Linked DNA regions of Homo sapiens: regions 2 and 3 are each linked to region 1. The links are contacts of gene promoters, found by promoter capture Hi-C in blood cells and fetal thymus (Javierre and others, 2016). All regions are on one chromosome and are shown on one strand. Each heading gives the region's core, a stretch centred on a gene start or on the middle of the fragment in contact. The rest is flanking DNA. Distances are from core to core; before and after follow the strand shown.

Region 1 (4,158 bases), core at 695-3,194:
TTTTGAAGAATGTGAAATAATGGTGTTTGCTTAATTGCTCATTTTGTATAAACTTAATATTGTACTTTAAAATATCTGCTAAAAAGTGAAAATTTAACTTTTTGGAATTGAAAAAGCAATATTAAATACTAATGAAATCCTAATTAAATGCTTATTTAAATCTGGTAGTATCTGTGGCATTTCTTACCAACCCTGCCCATAGTTGACATTTTTCCACCACTCCCCCCTTCCCAGCCATCAGTCTTGGAGAGGGGACAGAAAGGAAACGTCGGTCACCAGGAGAGTCTGCAGGTTTCCTTTTAATCAAGGCTCTACTGAAGGTGTTTTGTGGGGCTAAAAGCCCCCAAAACATGAAATGGACATGTAACACCACCTGGATCCCCCATAGCAGGCCAGACCACTCTGGCGAGCACTGCTGGTCTGCCCAAATCTGGGTAATCAGACTGGGTATTCATTGGCTGCATTTCAAAGCACAGCACTGCTTTCAGCCAGGATGAAGTGGGAGTGAACCCAGCTGCTAGCAGAGCTGCCACTCCAGGCTGAGAGCCAAGTACCAGCCACTGCCAGTGAAGACTGGCCCCTTTACTGAAGGGAGTTGTTCAGAGTCCAGCCACCGGCCCTGGGGAGGGAGAGAAGTCAGGGTATTCTGCTCGGGGATGGTCAGGGCTCCGCAGCTCCATCGCCAGCATCCTTTGGAAAGCCGCCTCTGGCGGAGACAGCCGGCTGGGGGGGCGCTCCAGGTTTGGCTGAGACGTTCTAGTTGGAACAGAAAGGAAAAAAGTGAGGCTGGGAGGCAAGGCCTTGGATTAGGCCCCACAAGGATGTGGCCATTTGGCATTTGGATAGTATTAACTTTTTCGAAACCTCTCACCAGATCAAAGGAGGTTAGGGATAAAGCGGCGGAGACATACTTCCCCCCTCCAGGGTAAGCTAGGGCTTGGCCAGCCTAGCCAGTGGGCAGACCCCACCCCACCCCAGCCCAGCCCAGGGTGGGCACTAACCCCGCCACCAGCCGGCTCCGGGCGCCGGCGGCCCAGCTGCCGTAACATCTCCTCGCAGGCTGCGATGGTGTCCAGGAGCTGCCGCTGCCGCTGCTCCACCGCGTCCAGCAGCTGCTGGGCGCGCTCCTCCCGGGGCGGCTGTGGGGGTGGCCTCCCGCCGAGCCCCAGCCCCGCCTTCCCGCGGTCCACGCCGGCAGCCTCCCTGCCCGGGAGAGAGCGAGAGACAGACGGTCAGGGCCGGCGCTTGCGCGGGGCCAAGCCCCTTCCTCCCGCCCCGACGGGCCCCCTCTCACCCCCGTGACCAGTCTGAGCCCGGGCCCCATTCCATCTCCGCTTGCGCGGCCCGACCACCGCCCCCCTTTCGGCCGCCCCCCTCCCCAGCGCTGCGTTAGGGCTTCGCAAGGCTGCGCCCCGCCCCGTCCCCACCGGTCTCCTTCAATCCTCCTGGGGGTCGTGGTCCCTTTAAGCTGCCCGGCGCAGAGGCGGGGCCGAGTCTCCTGGACCGGAAGCTGGCTGGGAGCGTCACTTCCTCCCGGAAGCGGGCCTGGGCGGATGTCTCCGGCGCGTCGGTGCAGGGGGATGAGGGCCGCGGTGGCTGCCAGCGTGGGGTTGAGCGAGGGGCCTGCTGGCTCCCGGAGCGGTCGCCTCTTCCGCCCGCCGAGTCCCGCTCCGGCGGCCCCCGGCGCCCGGCTGTTGCGGCTCCCGGGGAGCGGGGCCGTGCAGGCCGCGAGCCCGGAGCGCGCCGGCTGGACCGAGGCGCTGCGGGCCGCCGTGGCCGAGCTGCGCGCCGGCGCCGTGGTGGCCGTCCCCACCGATACGCTGTACGGCCTGGCCTGCGCGGCGAGCTGCTCGGCGGCTCTGCGCGCTGTGTACCGCCTCAAGGGTCGCAGCGAGGCCAAGCCTCTGGCCGTATGCCTCGGCCGCGTGGCCGACGTCTACAGGTAAGGCCGCCCCGACCCGGCCCCGCTAGGGGCGGCACCGCGGGAGGGGTTTCCGGTGACAGGCTTGGGAGACTGAGGCGCAGAGAGCGGGAGGGGCTTGTCCAGGCTCACCAAGGAATCCGGAACTGGAAATATGTACCGAGGACTTAACGTGCCCCGGGCCCTGAACTACATGCTGCTGGGAAGCAGCAACACACGAGAAAGGCAGGGACCCTGTTCCCTTGGCGTATTTGTGCTAATTGGGGAGGCCCCCGGGAAAAAAGCAAACAAACACAGTAGCTTAATTTAATAGCGAATGCCTTGAAGAAAATAAAACGTGGAGCTTGATCCCACTATCATGATATCACAGCGGTGCAGCTGTTGTAGTCCCTGAGACCAGAGGCACATGGGCGTCAAGCCAGGGGTGCGCCTCTGGAGCCCTGCTTTCTGCTCAAGCTCTTAGGGAGGTGAAGCAGGGAGACAGGCGGCTCCCATTGTAAACTCGAAGGATTCCTTTTCTACGTCTGCCTAGAGTCTAGGAAAGGACCACCAGTGGCCCTTCAATTTTGAATGGATTTATTCTTCTGTGTTTCCCAGATACTGCCGTGTGAGAGTACCTGAGGGGCTCCTGAAAGACCTACTGCCAGGACCAGTGACCCTGGTGATGGAACGCTCGGAGGAGCTCAACAAGGACCTAAACCCTTTTACGCCTGTGAGTCAAGTTTTCTCTTGTGTCCCCAGACTCCAGGCCACTTGGCTTTCACTAGGATCCAGATAAGACTTACCCTCTTATCCCTTCCAACCTTTCTCATGATCCCTTTCCCCTTGCCTTACAGCTTGTAGGCATTCGGATTCCTGATCATGCTTTTATGCAAGACTTGGCTCAGATGTTTGAGGGTCCGCTTGCTCTCACTAGTGCCAACCTCAGCTCCCAGGCCAGTTCTCTGAATGTCGAGGTGAGTTTACCCAGTCCTTCCCCTGGAAATGTCACCAGCGCACATACTGTTTTCTGTGAATCAGTGGCATTGATAGTACACTGGGATGGCCAGGCATGAGAGTTCTTGGGCCAACAGTGGGAAGGTTGCCCAGCTGGCAGGGAGGTGGTGGGGGGCAATATAAATTAAAAAAATTTGAAAGATTTTATCTCAAAGTCTGAAAAGCCAGGGGGAGAATTGGTCTTTTCTTCAGTCTTTATAATAATAGGAAAGATTATAAGAACAATGTCTTCCTGTTTTTCTGGAGATAACAGTTTCTGGAGAACACAGTTAGGCTATAAATCTTCACGACAGTGCTGTAAAGAAAGATGAAGAAGGCCAAGGGCAGTGGCTCATGCCTGTGACCCCAGCACTTTGGGAGGCCCAAGCAGGTGGATCATGTGAGGTCAGGAGTTTGAGACCAGCCTGGCTAACATGGCAAAACTCCATCTCTAATAAAAAATACAAAGATTAGCCAGACATGGTGGCGCATGCCTGTAATCCCAGCTACTTGGGAGGCTGAGGCAGGAGAATCACTTGAACCTGGGAGGCAGAGGTTACAGTGAGCTCAGATTGTGCCACTGTACTCCAGGCAGGGCTCTAGAGCGAGACTCTGTCTCTTAAAAAAAAAAAAAAAGATGAAGTTTAGCCTCCAGAAAGTTAAATCACTTGTTCCAGGTCACACAGCCATTAAGTGACTGACTCAGATTTTTAACCAGTTTTTGATTCTCGCCCCTGTTCTCTTATCTCTGCCACAAGCCAGATCAAAGAAAGGATCATCCTAATCCTTTCTTGGCTACATAGATTAGAACAAAGGAGGACACATAGAAATTTCGTTTTTTTTCTTATTACTAAGATGTAAAACGTAGTAATAAGCTACATTGTGTCCCCAGACTCGGCCAGACACATAGTATCACACATAGTATCCAGCATCAGGCCTTGGGCCTTCCTTGGGCTTATTACATCCAGCTAATAAGCCTGGATAGAGTAACTTGCGTGCAGTCACATAGAGATACGATGGAAAGTCCAGAGTTAGAGCCCGTATCCCTGCTCAGAACTCCATTCGATGGGTTTTCCATTCCCAGACCTAGAGTGGGGCTCAGGGTTCTTAGAAAGTGAGAGTTCAGCATCCCTTCCCATTCTCAGAGTGCAGGTTTGACTTGGTCCTGGTGGCTGTACCCCAGGAGCAAGAATCGGGATGTGGCACAGGGAGGGGAGGTTTTTACCTTGTCAGCAATCATTTGACCTGTCCAACACAGTAAC
Region 2 (4,785 bases), core at 1,771-4,270, 210 kb after region 1:
ATGATTTAAGATAGGTAGGAAAGAAGCTTGATCTTCCAGGGCTGCCTTCTGGTCAGCAGGTCAGAAAGCCTCCGAGTGACTCTTGGAAAAGACTTCACTTTTGTATATACAAGAATCACTTGAGGAGCTTGCTAAAATGTAGATTCTCTTGGCCCCACCCCCAAGATGGTCTGATTTTGGAAGCTCTGGGATAAAACCCAGAAATCTGCATTTTTGTTTTATTTTATTTTATTTTTGAGACAGGATCTCACTCTGTCACCCAGGCTGGAGTGCAGTGGCACGATCTCACTGCAGGCTCCACTTCCCAGGCTCAAGAGATTCTCCAGCTTCAGCCTCCCAAGTACCTGGGACTACAGGTTTGAGCCACCACGCCTGGCTAATTTTTGTATGTTTTGTAGAAACAAAGTTTTACCATGTCACCCAGGCTGATCTCGAACTCCTGCGCTCAAGCGATCCACCTGCCTCTGCTTCCCAAAGTGCTGGGATTCCAGGCATGAGCCACCATGCCCAGCATTTTAAAACAGATCCCCCAAGTGATTCTGATGCTTGTGGTTCTCAGACCACACTTTAAAAAATGTTGCTTTAGAAGCTGCTGCTATTTGCCCATTAGACCCCAGTGATAAACTTTTTACAGAATGAAGATAAAAGTGAGGTCAGGGCCCGGCACACTGGCTCATGCCTATAATCCCAGCACTTTGGGAGACTGAGGCAAGTGGATCACCTGAGGTCATGAGTTCAAGACCAGCCTGGCCAACATGGCGAAACCCCATCTCTACTGAAAATACAACAATTAGCTGGGTGTCCTGGTGGGTGCCTGCAATCCCAGCTACTCGGGAGGCTGAGGCAGGAGAATTGCTTGAACTGATGAGGCAGAGGTTGCAGTGAGCTGAGATCGTGCCATTGCACTCCAGCCTGGGTGACAGAGCAAGACTCTATCTGAAAAAAAAAAAAAAAAAAAAAAAAGTAAGGTCAGGATTGTCTGCTTCCTGTGAAGACACCAGTCCAGAACATGGCATTTCCAGCCAGTCTCCATCCATTAAGGTCTTCTCATTCACACAAACCTGTGGTTACCAGGAGCAACATTTGAGGGGATGAGTAGCTCACCTTGGATTTTGAGAAAAATAGAAAGCATCCCTGGCCGGTGCAGTGGCTCATGCCTGTAATCCCAGCACTTTGGGAGACCGAGGCGGGAAGATCTCGAGGTCAGGAAATTGAGACCAGCCTGGCCAACATGGCGAAACCCCGTCTCTACTAAAAACACAAAAATTAGCTGGGCATGGTGGTGCGTGCCTGTAATCCCAGCTACTTGGGAGGCTGAGGCATGAGAATAGCTTGAATCTAGGAGGCAGAGTTTGCAGTGAGCTGAGATCATGCCACTGCACTCCAGCCTGGTGAAAGGGCAAGACTCCATCTCAAAAAAAAAAAAAAAAAAAAGAAGAAAAATAGAAAGCATCCCATCTGCATGATGTGTACCATGTCTGCGATGCTTTCATATACTGTAACTCATATGATCTTATTGCAGTCTTTCAGAGTAGTTAAGCTATTGCATCTGTTTTAAAGCTGAGGAACTGTAGACCTGGAGGTGTATCTTGCCTCTGCTAGTTGGCATGACATCAGAAAAGAGAGTGAAAAATAGTCACTGCATTACAATGCGGCAAGCAGGGCAGGCAAATCAAACCAGTAACTTAAGCTTGACTTACCTTGATCAGGCTTTTTATCTGCTGGTAGAATTGAAGTTGGTTGTCGAGATCGGCAAATATTGTTGTAAAAGGATTGATGGGTCAGATTATAAAAATAGATGGAAAGTTTGTAAGATAAATGCAAGCAGAGTATGAGAACAGGAGAGAAACAACCCACCATATCATCTGGGAAAATGAAACTCCTTGGCAAGACTTCACAACAGCCTGATTCAAAATTTCATAATGAAATTATGTCTCTGATCAAAGCCTGAATGAGCTCATAGGCTGATTTTTGCCATCCGTGTTTATTCTGGTTTGCACCAACTTGAGGCATCAGAAACACATTAACTGAATCTTCTCTCTGGGAGGAGGCTATGGTATCCTTGTTTTGGGGATCAGAGGGACAGTGTGGGGTGGAAGGGGGCATCTTCACTGATCATGAAGTTTTTTCCAAATAGCTCTCAGAGCTTCCCTAACACAGGTCACAGTCAGGGCCTTCCCAGCAGAGCTGCATTTAATCTCATGATACTTGCCCTTGGGGCAATAAAAGCGAAGCTTGAGGGACAGAAGGTATTTCCAGCTCTAGCCTATGACATGGCCTGCTTTTGCTCTAAAGAGAATGTTTTGGGGTTTGTTTCAAACTCAGAGAAATAAAGACTCAATCATCCCCTGCTCAATTAGAATACCTCACTTTATAACAAATTGTTTGTTTTTATGAAATGAGCTACACTGCATGAATCCACCCTTCCTCTTGCCTAACCATCTCTTCTTTGGCCTATCCAGAGGGTACAAAGATGGCCATTTTCTGACAATTTGAGGTACCAAAAAAGAGAGAGGGACCAGGCGAGGTGGCTCACACTTGTAATCCCAGCACTTTGGGAGGCTGAGGCAGGTGGATCACCTGAGGTCAGGAGTTTGAGACCAGCCTGGCCAATGTGGTGAAAGCCCGTCTCTACTAAAAATACAAAAATTAGCTGGGCATGATACCATGCGCCTGTAATCTCAGCTACTTGGGAGGCTGAGGCAGGAGAATTGCTTGAACCCGGGAGGTGGAGGTTGCAGTGAACCGAGACCGGGCCACTGCACTCCAGCCTGGGCAACAAGAGCGAGACTCCGTCTCAAAAAACAAAAACAAAAACAAACAAACAAAAAATAAATTGTAAAAAGAGAGAGGGCTTCTTGGTTCAAACACTGGCATCTAGACACTTTATTCTGGCTAGTAGAAACAGAAATCACTGGGTCTTAATGCCTTCCTTCATCCTCAAGGCAAGAGACATTCCCATCTACTCATTCTTTCACTTAATGAATATTTTTTGAGTCCTTTGTTTCAGATGCTATTCAAGTCTTAAAGACACAGCAGTGAACAAATTAACAAGGTCCCTGCTTTTAAGAATCTTACATTCTAGTTTGGGGGAAGCAGCCAATAAACTTGTAAAAAAAATTCAACTAGTGATAAATGCCATGAAATAAATAAAACAGAATACTGTAACAGAATAACTGTGAAAGGGTGAAAGGTGGCTGATTTAGACAAATTAGACAGGAATGAGTTCTCACAGCAGGAAGGGTCACCAGATAAAATACAGAACGTACAGTTACATTTGAATTTCAGGCAAACGATGAATACTTTTTTAGTCTAAGTATTTTCCAGGCACTGTTGGAGGTGTACTAAAGAAAAGTATTCATTTTTTTTCTCTGAAATTCTAATTTAATTTGGTGTCCTGTATTTCTATTTGCTAATTCTTGCAGGCCTACCAATAGGTGATATTTGAGCTTAGGATTGAATGACAGCTATGCAAAGATTCTGGGAAAGAGTGATTCAGGCAGAGAGAATATCCAGTGTAAATGTCAGAATAACCAGAGGGAGGGACGTACACATGAGATTAGATAAATAGGCAGGCAGGGGCCAGATCACAGAATCCTGTAGGGATGGCAAAAAGTTTGAATCAATCTCTGTCTCTGTCTGTTTCTCCCTTCTCCCTTCCCCTACCTCTCATTCTAAGAGTGATGATAAGCCACTGGAGTTGTAAGGAAGAGAATGACACCTCCTAACGGATATTTGGCTGCTGTGTGGTCGGCAACTTTTGGAAGGACTTAGAAGACAAATTCAGAAGACAAACTTAAGCTTGTGCCACTGGCCTGGGAAGAAGCTTCTTTATTCGGAGGTGGACCCAACTGGGAGCTCTGGCCGCGCGTTCAGGTTAACTAGGCGGTTGCTATGAACGGGCAGCTTGGCGGTTGCTAGGGCTGGAGCGGGCTGGGGCTCCACGCAGGGCGACGCCTAGGCGGCTGGAGCGGGGGCGGAGCCAGGAGGGTGACGGCGCGCGCCGCGCGTTCACAGGAAGTCGCTCTGAGGCCGAGAGGGACGCGAGCGGAAGTGACGTACGTCGTGCACACGTGGTCCGGCGTGGTTCAGGCGGGTGTCTTCGGCCGGGCTTGGGAACATAAAAGTTTGTTTCACCACGTAAGCCGGACCTCGCACTCCGGTCCCGGTCTCGTCGCCAAGATGGTGAAGCCCAAGTACAAAGGACGGAGCACCATCAACCCGTCCAAGGCCAGCACAAACCCAGGTACAGGCGGCAGGGCTGATCGAGGGTGGAGCTTGGAGGAAGTATAGGGAAGGGCTCCGAGGAGCACTGGAGGGGAAGGAGGGTTACTCGAGTGGCATTGCTTAGAATGACTACGAGCGGGGTGGCTGTTGGGGATGAAAAGGGAAAAAGGAAAGCAATATTTGTGGTGGTTTCTTCTCAGGGGGGAACTGAGGAGGGCTCAGTGCACGCCTGGCAGGCCAAAGTGTAGTCAACTGGTCTGAAGTCAAGGAAAGTGAACACTCAGGCTGACAGCCTTGGGTCCTCTCCAGTTGAGAGATGCAGAGAAAGTCAGATTAAAAATGGTGTAGGTTGACCCTTCGGGCCTTTTACACGTGATCATACTTGCCTGCCACCTTAGCTTTGACCTTTAAAATGAGAAAGGGCTTATAGTTTTGGCCCTTGGAATTATTCTATCTGGTAAAGTGCTTAGAGAACCCTACAAAGAAGTCAGTATGATCATTGCAGTAAGGCTGTTTAGGAGATGTGTGTAAGTTTTGGCGAGGTTCCACCTGTACGAT
Region 3 (4,806 bases), core at 1,681-4,180, 210 kb before region 1:
TATACCTATCTGCACAAAATACCAGTGAGAAAGGGGGGTTTTCTCAGACCTCCTAAAGCTCACTCATGGGTTGTCTACCCACTCGAAGTTACAGACAAAATATCCTTGCAATCCACCCACCAGCAGTCTCTTAATAAAAATGATTTTGCAGTAAACAAAATAGAAAGAAACATAATTACTAGACAAAAATGGCAAAAATCTAAACCTCCCTAACTTCTCAAAAGCTATGCTGGTGAACTATTCTACATGGGAATTTGGAATACTAATCTCTTTAGGGACTACCACAATTCTTGAGAAGCGTCAGTGACACGGCTAATTGAAAGTACACCTAATTGCCGGGCGCGGTAGCTCACGCCTGTAATCCCTGCACTTTGGGAGGCTGAGGTGGGTGGATCACAAGGTCAGGAGTTCAAGACCAGCCTAGCCAAAATGGTGAAACCCTGTCTCTACTAAATATACAAAAAATTAGCCAGGCGTGGTGGCGGGCACCTGTAATCCCAGCTACTCGGGAGGCTGAGGCAAGAGAATTGCTTGAACCCAGGAGGCAGAGGTTGCAGTGAGCCGATATCACGCCACCGCACTCCAGCCTGGGTGACAGAGTGAGACTCCGTCTCAAAAAAAAAAAAAAGTACACCTAATTGACAAACAACAGGGTTATCACAAGAACACTCATGAGCAAGCTCTTTGGCTGGAAGTGTTATCTACAGAAGGAAATATTACTGGGCCTTAGACTTCAACAATTCACAGATTCTAGCACAGTCTCACAGCAGTGGTTTCAGACAGCTTTTGTTTTCGCTTTATTGCACAGACTGTCAGATTTATGGGATTACCCAATATAGTCAAACTAATTAGGGGTATTTATATTACTAAAGCAAGTTTAGCTGCCTCTGAGCTAGAGAAAACTGCTGTGAAATTAAACATTGGAAGCAAAACTGATGCAGTGTAAATGATTCAAATCAAAACAGAACAGCTGTCTGCTTGAAACACATTGACAGCATTTTTTTTTAATGAATCAGTCAGAAGAGTTCAACTCCAGAAGGCTTTCAGGAAAAGCATGTCTTCTGCACAACCCAGTTACAGTGACGGAAAGCACCATAAGGAAAAGCCAAAACAAAATTTTTGTTACAATACACAATATGAAAGACCTTTTGGGCAGGCATGGTGGCTCACGCCTGTAATCCCAACACTTCAGGAGGCCAAGGCGGGAGTAAACACTTGAGCTCAGGAGTTTAAGACCAGCCTGGGCAACTTAGCGAGACCCCGTTTCTACAAAAAAAATTTAAAATTAGCTAGGCATGGTGGCACACACCTGTGGTCCCAGCTACCCAGGAGGCTGAGGCAGGAGGATCGCTTAAGCCCAGAAGGTGGAGACTGCAGTGAGCCATAATCACACCATTGCACTCCAGCCTGGGTGACAGTGAGACCCTGTCTCAAGAAAAATAAAAACACAGAAAGACCTTTTGATGTGCGTATTCACTGCTAAAGGTTCAATATTAAAGTATTGCAAATCCTTTAATCTTCAGCAATCCCTTTCTCTGCATTTTCAAAACACTGGCATCTGTTACAAGTATTAAAAGCACAAAGCGCAGGGTCAGAATTGGGATTCAAACCCAGGTCTAAAGGCCAGAACCTAAGCTTCTGACCACTATACCTCCTCCGATCATAGAAATTAGGAAGCCCTTCTCCACTTCCATCCCATCATCAAATCATCCTACAAATCCACTTTTCTAAGGGAACTCATGAGTTTTCCATAAATAAATAATTATTTTAGGCCAGGCACAGTGGCTCACGCTTGTAATCCCGACACTTTGGGAGGCCAAGGCAGGCAGATCAACTGAGGTCAGGAGTTCAAGACCAGCCTGGCCAACATGGCGAAACCCCATCTCTATGAAAAATACAGAAATAAGCTGGGTGTGGTGTTGCACCCCTATAGTCCCAGTTACTGGGGAGGCTGAGGCATGAGAATTGCTTGAACCCAGGAGGCGGAGGTTGCAGTGAGCCGAGATCGTGCCACTGCACTCCAGCCTGGGAGACAGTGAGACTCTGACTAAAAAATAAAATAAAATAAATTTTAAAAATTATTTTAAATGCAGTAGCAAAAAAAAAAAAACAAAAAAAAAACACCTAGATTCCCCTAAGCTCACATGTGAAGAACAACAGAGAAAATTACCTTAAGTCCAGTCTGATTGGTAACTCCTTTCACTTTTTCTTTCTGCAAGGTCTCTATCCTGGGCCTATTAAAGACTCTGTCGACTAGCTCCGGGGCTGTTTGCAGGTGAGTTGCGACATCAAACTGTTCAACTAAAATTCAAGACAATCCTTAAGGCACTGTCGGTTTCTAACACCAAATGACACAGACTGGCATGGTAGACTGTCCCAGAAACCTTCAAACATTTCATACCTTCCTTTTTGGTGTCAAAAAAGAACACATGCTTGTTCTGTTGCTTCCCCTGGAAATCCAGCAGATGGAGCTCTGATTTTAGTCTTTCGATTTTCTAGAACACAGAATATGGTCTCACTTTATATTAGATTCTTCTAGGGTACCAAAAAAAAAAAAAAACTGCAAAAGTTTAAACCATTTCACATCATTATTGCCAGCCAGCAAAGAACTTGCTTTATTCTTTTAAAGGAAAGGATCCCAACAAATATCAGGTATTGGGCTAGGCACTTCCCAAGACGCACTTAATCCCTGCAACAGTCGCCTGAGACAGAAATGAGGGAAGAGCCTCAGGGAGTTGAATTTGCCCATTGTCATGGGGCTAGTAATTTATGGCAGTGCCAGAACTCAAACCCTAGGTCTGTCTCATTCCCAAACCTGAACTCTTTCCACTCTACCATGCTAACTATACTTCTAAATCATTATTACAATCAAGTGAGATTGTAAATGCCAGAAGAAATTAATGAATAACTTGAGATTGATGAATTTAAGTTTCCCTTCTTAACCAATAAAACCAATCAGAACAAAGAGTGAATTACCTTAGCTTCTGCAACCCTCTTCATTTCTATATATTTGACGTCCTGAGTTCTCATCAGCTTTAGTTGTTCTGGGGTTACTTCTTCCTTAGTCTCCTTAATAATATGTACTCCATCCTAAAATCCAAATTTAAAAGATATATTCCCTATTAGATTAAAATCATTAATAAGTTGTTGGCACAGTGCACGGCTAGAACAAAGACAACCATAGGCCAAGTGCGGTCACTCACACCTGTAATCCCAGCACTTTGGGAGACCGAGATGGGCAGATCACTTGAGGTCAGGAGTTCAAGACCAGCCTGACCAACATGGTGAAACCCCGTCTCTACTAAAAATACAAAAACTTAGCCGGGCACAGTAGTGTGTGCCTGTAGTTCAGCTACTCGAGAGGCTGAGGCACGAGAATCACTTGAACCCGGGAGGCAGAGGTTGCAGGGAGCCGAGGTCGCACCACTGCACTCCAGCCTGGGCAACAGAGAGTGAGTCCATCTCAAAAAAAAAAACAAAAAGACAACCAAATGCTGTATGCTAACAGCAATCCTAGACACAGGCCCCTGAGGCGTACGTTCAATGTAGCACCTCCAGTCATCTGTCCTAGAACAGCTCCAGGTATAAGACAACCCAGATTCAAAGGTAAAAATGCACGCTCCTCTGGAAGTGGAGGGTTTGCCTTGGACACTGACCAAGAGCACCTGGAGTAACCAGAGAAGGGTTAAATTAAGGCCAACGATTCTTCCTCTCCATCTCCTCCCTGTCCTTATTTTCCAATGTGTGGAGCTCAAAACACCAACCAAGCCATTGGGCACCCACCTGGAGTTTAACCCGAGTCATTTTGTAGTAGAATTCATCTGGATTTTTTTCAAGAGCCTTCTTCCGAAGAGCTTTGAGGTATTCTTGTTTTTTACGGTAGTCACTAAAAGACAGGTTAAATGAGGTTCATAGCAAAAAAAAAAAAATAGATAATTTTAAAAAACCAAAAACCCACAATAAGCAAACTTTACAAGCATCTAAAAGGTCACACAGAGTGAAACTCAAAAAAGCCAAAAGCACTGACTGGATCTGGACACTCCACTGTCACTGAGCTGAGCTCATGTCTTCGCAGGGTCCACAGTCTAATCAACAGTTCCTATTCCAGTGGAACCTGAAATTAACTGTCCCCAGCCTATATATGTTTCAGTGCCATTTATATCATTACAGGGAGACACCAAACAAAGTACAAATTAAAACTCCTTAGGATATGGTGCAAGCTTGGGCACCAAATGACCATATGTAATTCAGAAACTACACAGTACAGTATAGCGCAATGACTAGAATCATGGACTCTGGAGCCAGACAGCATGGGTTCAAATCTGGACTTGACAACTTCTGGCTAAGTAACCTTGGATAAGTTATTTAACCATCCTGAATCCCAATTTCATTTGTAAAATGAATACGGTAATAGTAACCCATCCCAGAAGGTTGTTGGGAGGGACAAATCAGTGTAAAAACGGTAAATATCCTAGAACACTGCCTGGCCCAATAACAATACTTAATTATCATTAGCCTTAAAATCTCTGGGACCTACAGAAACCCATTTAATCCATCACCACCATCTAGACCAGGGGCATAAAAAGGACCTCAGCTGACATGTATCGCTAACAAATAATTAAGAAGTATTTTGCAAACAAAGTGCTAACAGAGAACAAGAATGGGGATAATTGTTTTATAAAATGTTTTCAGAGTTCATTATCACCCACGCTTGGTCTCATGAATCCATCTTTCACATCTCTTCATTCCACATCACACACATGGTGATGTAAGAGACTCAACAAATGGAATTTCAGATTATATCCT

The links. The method cuts DNA at HindIII sites, captures the fragments that hold promoters and counts their contacts. A CHiCAGO score of 5 or more calls a contact.
Region 2: a contact is called between a fragment that was not itself captured here and the fragment with the promoter of C1orf122 in region 1, in 2 of 17 cell types (non-activated CD4 T cells and fetal thymus). The highest score is 5.3, in non-activated CD4 T cells.
Region 3: a fragment that was not itself captured here is called in contact with the fragment with the promoter of C1orf122 in region 1 in 2 of 17 cell types (fetal thymus and monocytes); the score reaches 6.9 in fetal thymus.

What each region holds. Positions count from the first base shown.
Region 1 is chr1:37,805,576-37,809,733 of GRCh38, reverse strand. It overlaps C1orf122 (chromosome 1 open reading frame 122), which reads right to left and starts at 1,944. Exons shown (of 3, transcript NM_198446.3): 1 at 1,295-1,944; 2 at 1,002-1,203; 3 at 280-756. The coding sequence starts at 1,329. The coding sequence ends at 661. It overlaps YRDC (yrdC N6-threonylcarbamoyltransferase domain containing), which reads left to right and starts at 1,526. Exons shown (of 5, transcript NM_024640.4): 1 at 1,526-1,942; 2 at 2,519-2,633; 3 at 2,758-2,877. The coding sequence starts at 1,554. It overlaps MTF1 (metal regulatory transcription factor 1), which reads left to right. Exons shown (of 11, transcript NM_005955.3): 11 at 1-160. RefSeq lists silencers at 887-1,436, 1,617-1,876. The HindIII fragment of the contact is 6,155 bases long and covers 1-4,158 here.
Region 2 is chr1:37,595,220-37,600,004 of GRCh38, reverse strand. GNL2 (G protein nucleolar 2) reads left to right here and starts at 4,068. Exons shown (of 16, transcript NM_013285.3): 1 at 4,068-4,246. The coding sequence starts at 4,183. RefSeq lists enhancers at 4,150-4,339, 4,510-4,569. The HindIII fragment of the contact is 1,567 bases long and covers 2,237-3,803 here.
Region 3 is chr1:38,016,748-38,021,553 of GRCh38, reverse strand. UTP11 (UTP11 small subunit processome component) reads right to left here. Exons shown (of 8, transcript NM_016037.4): 3 at 3,784-3,886; 4 at 2,977-3,090; 5 at 2,402-2,495; 6 at 2,171-2,301. Among named protein-coding and RNA genes, the nearest start is that of UTP11, 6.4 kb to the right of the region's middle. The HindIII fragment of the contact is 2,585 bases long and covers 1,638-4,222 here.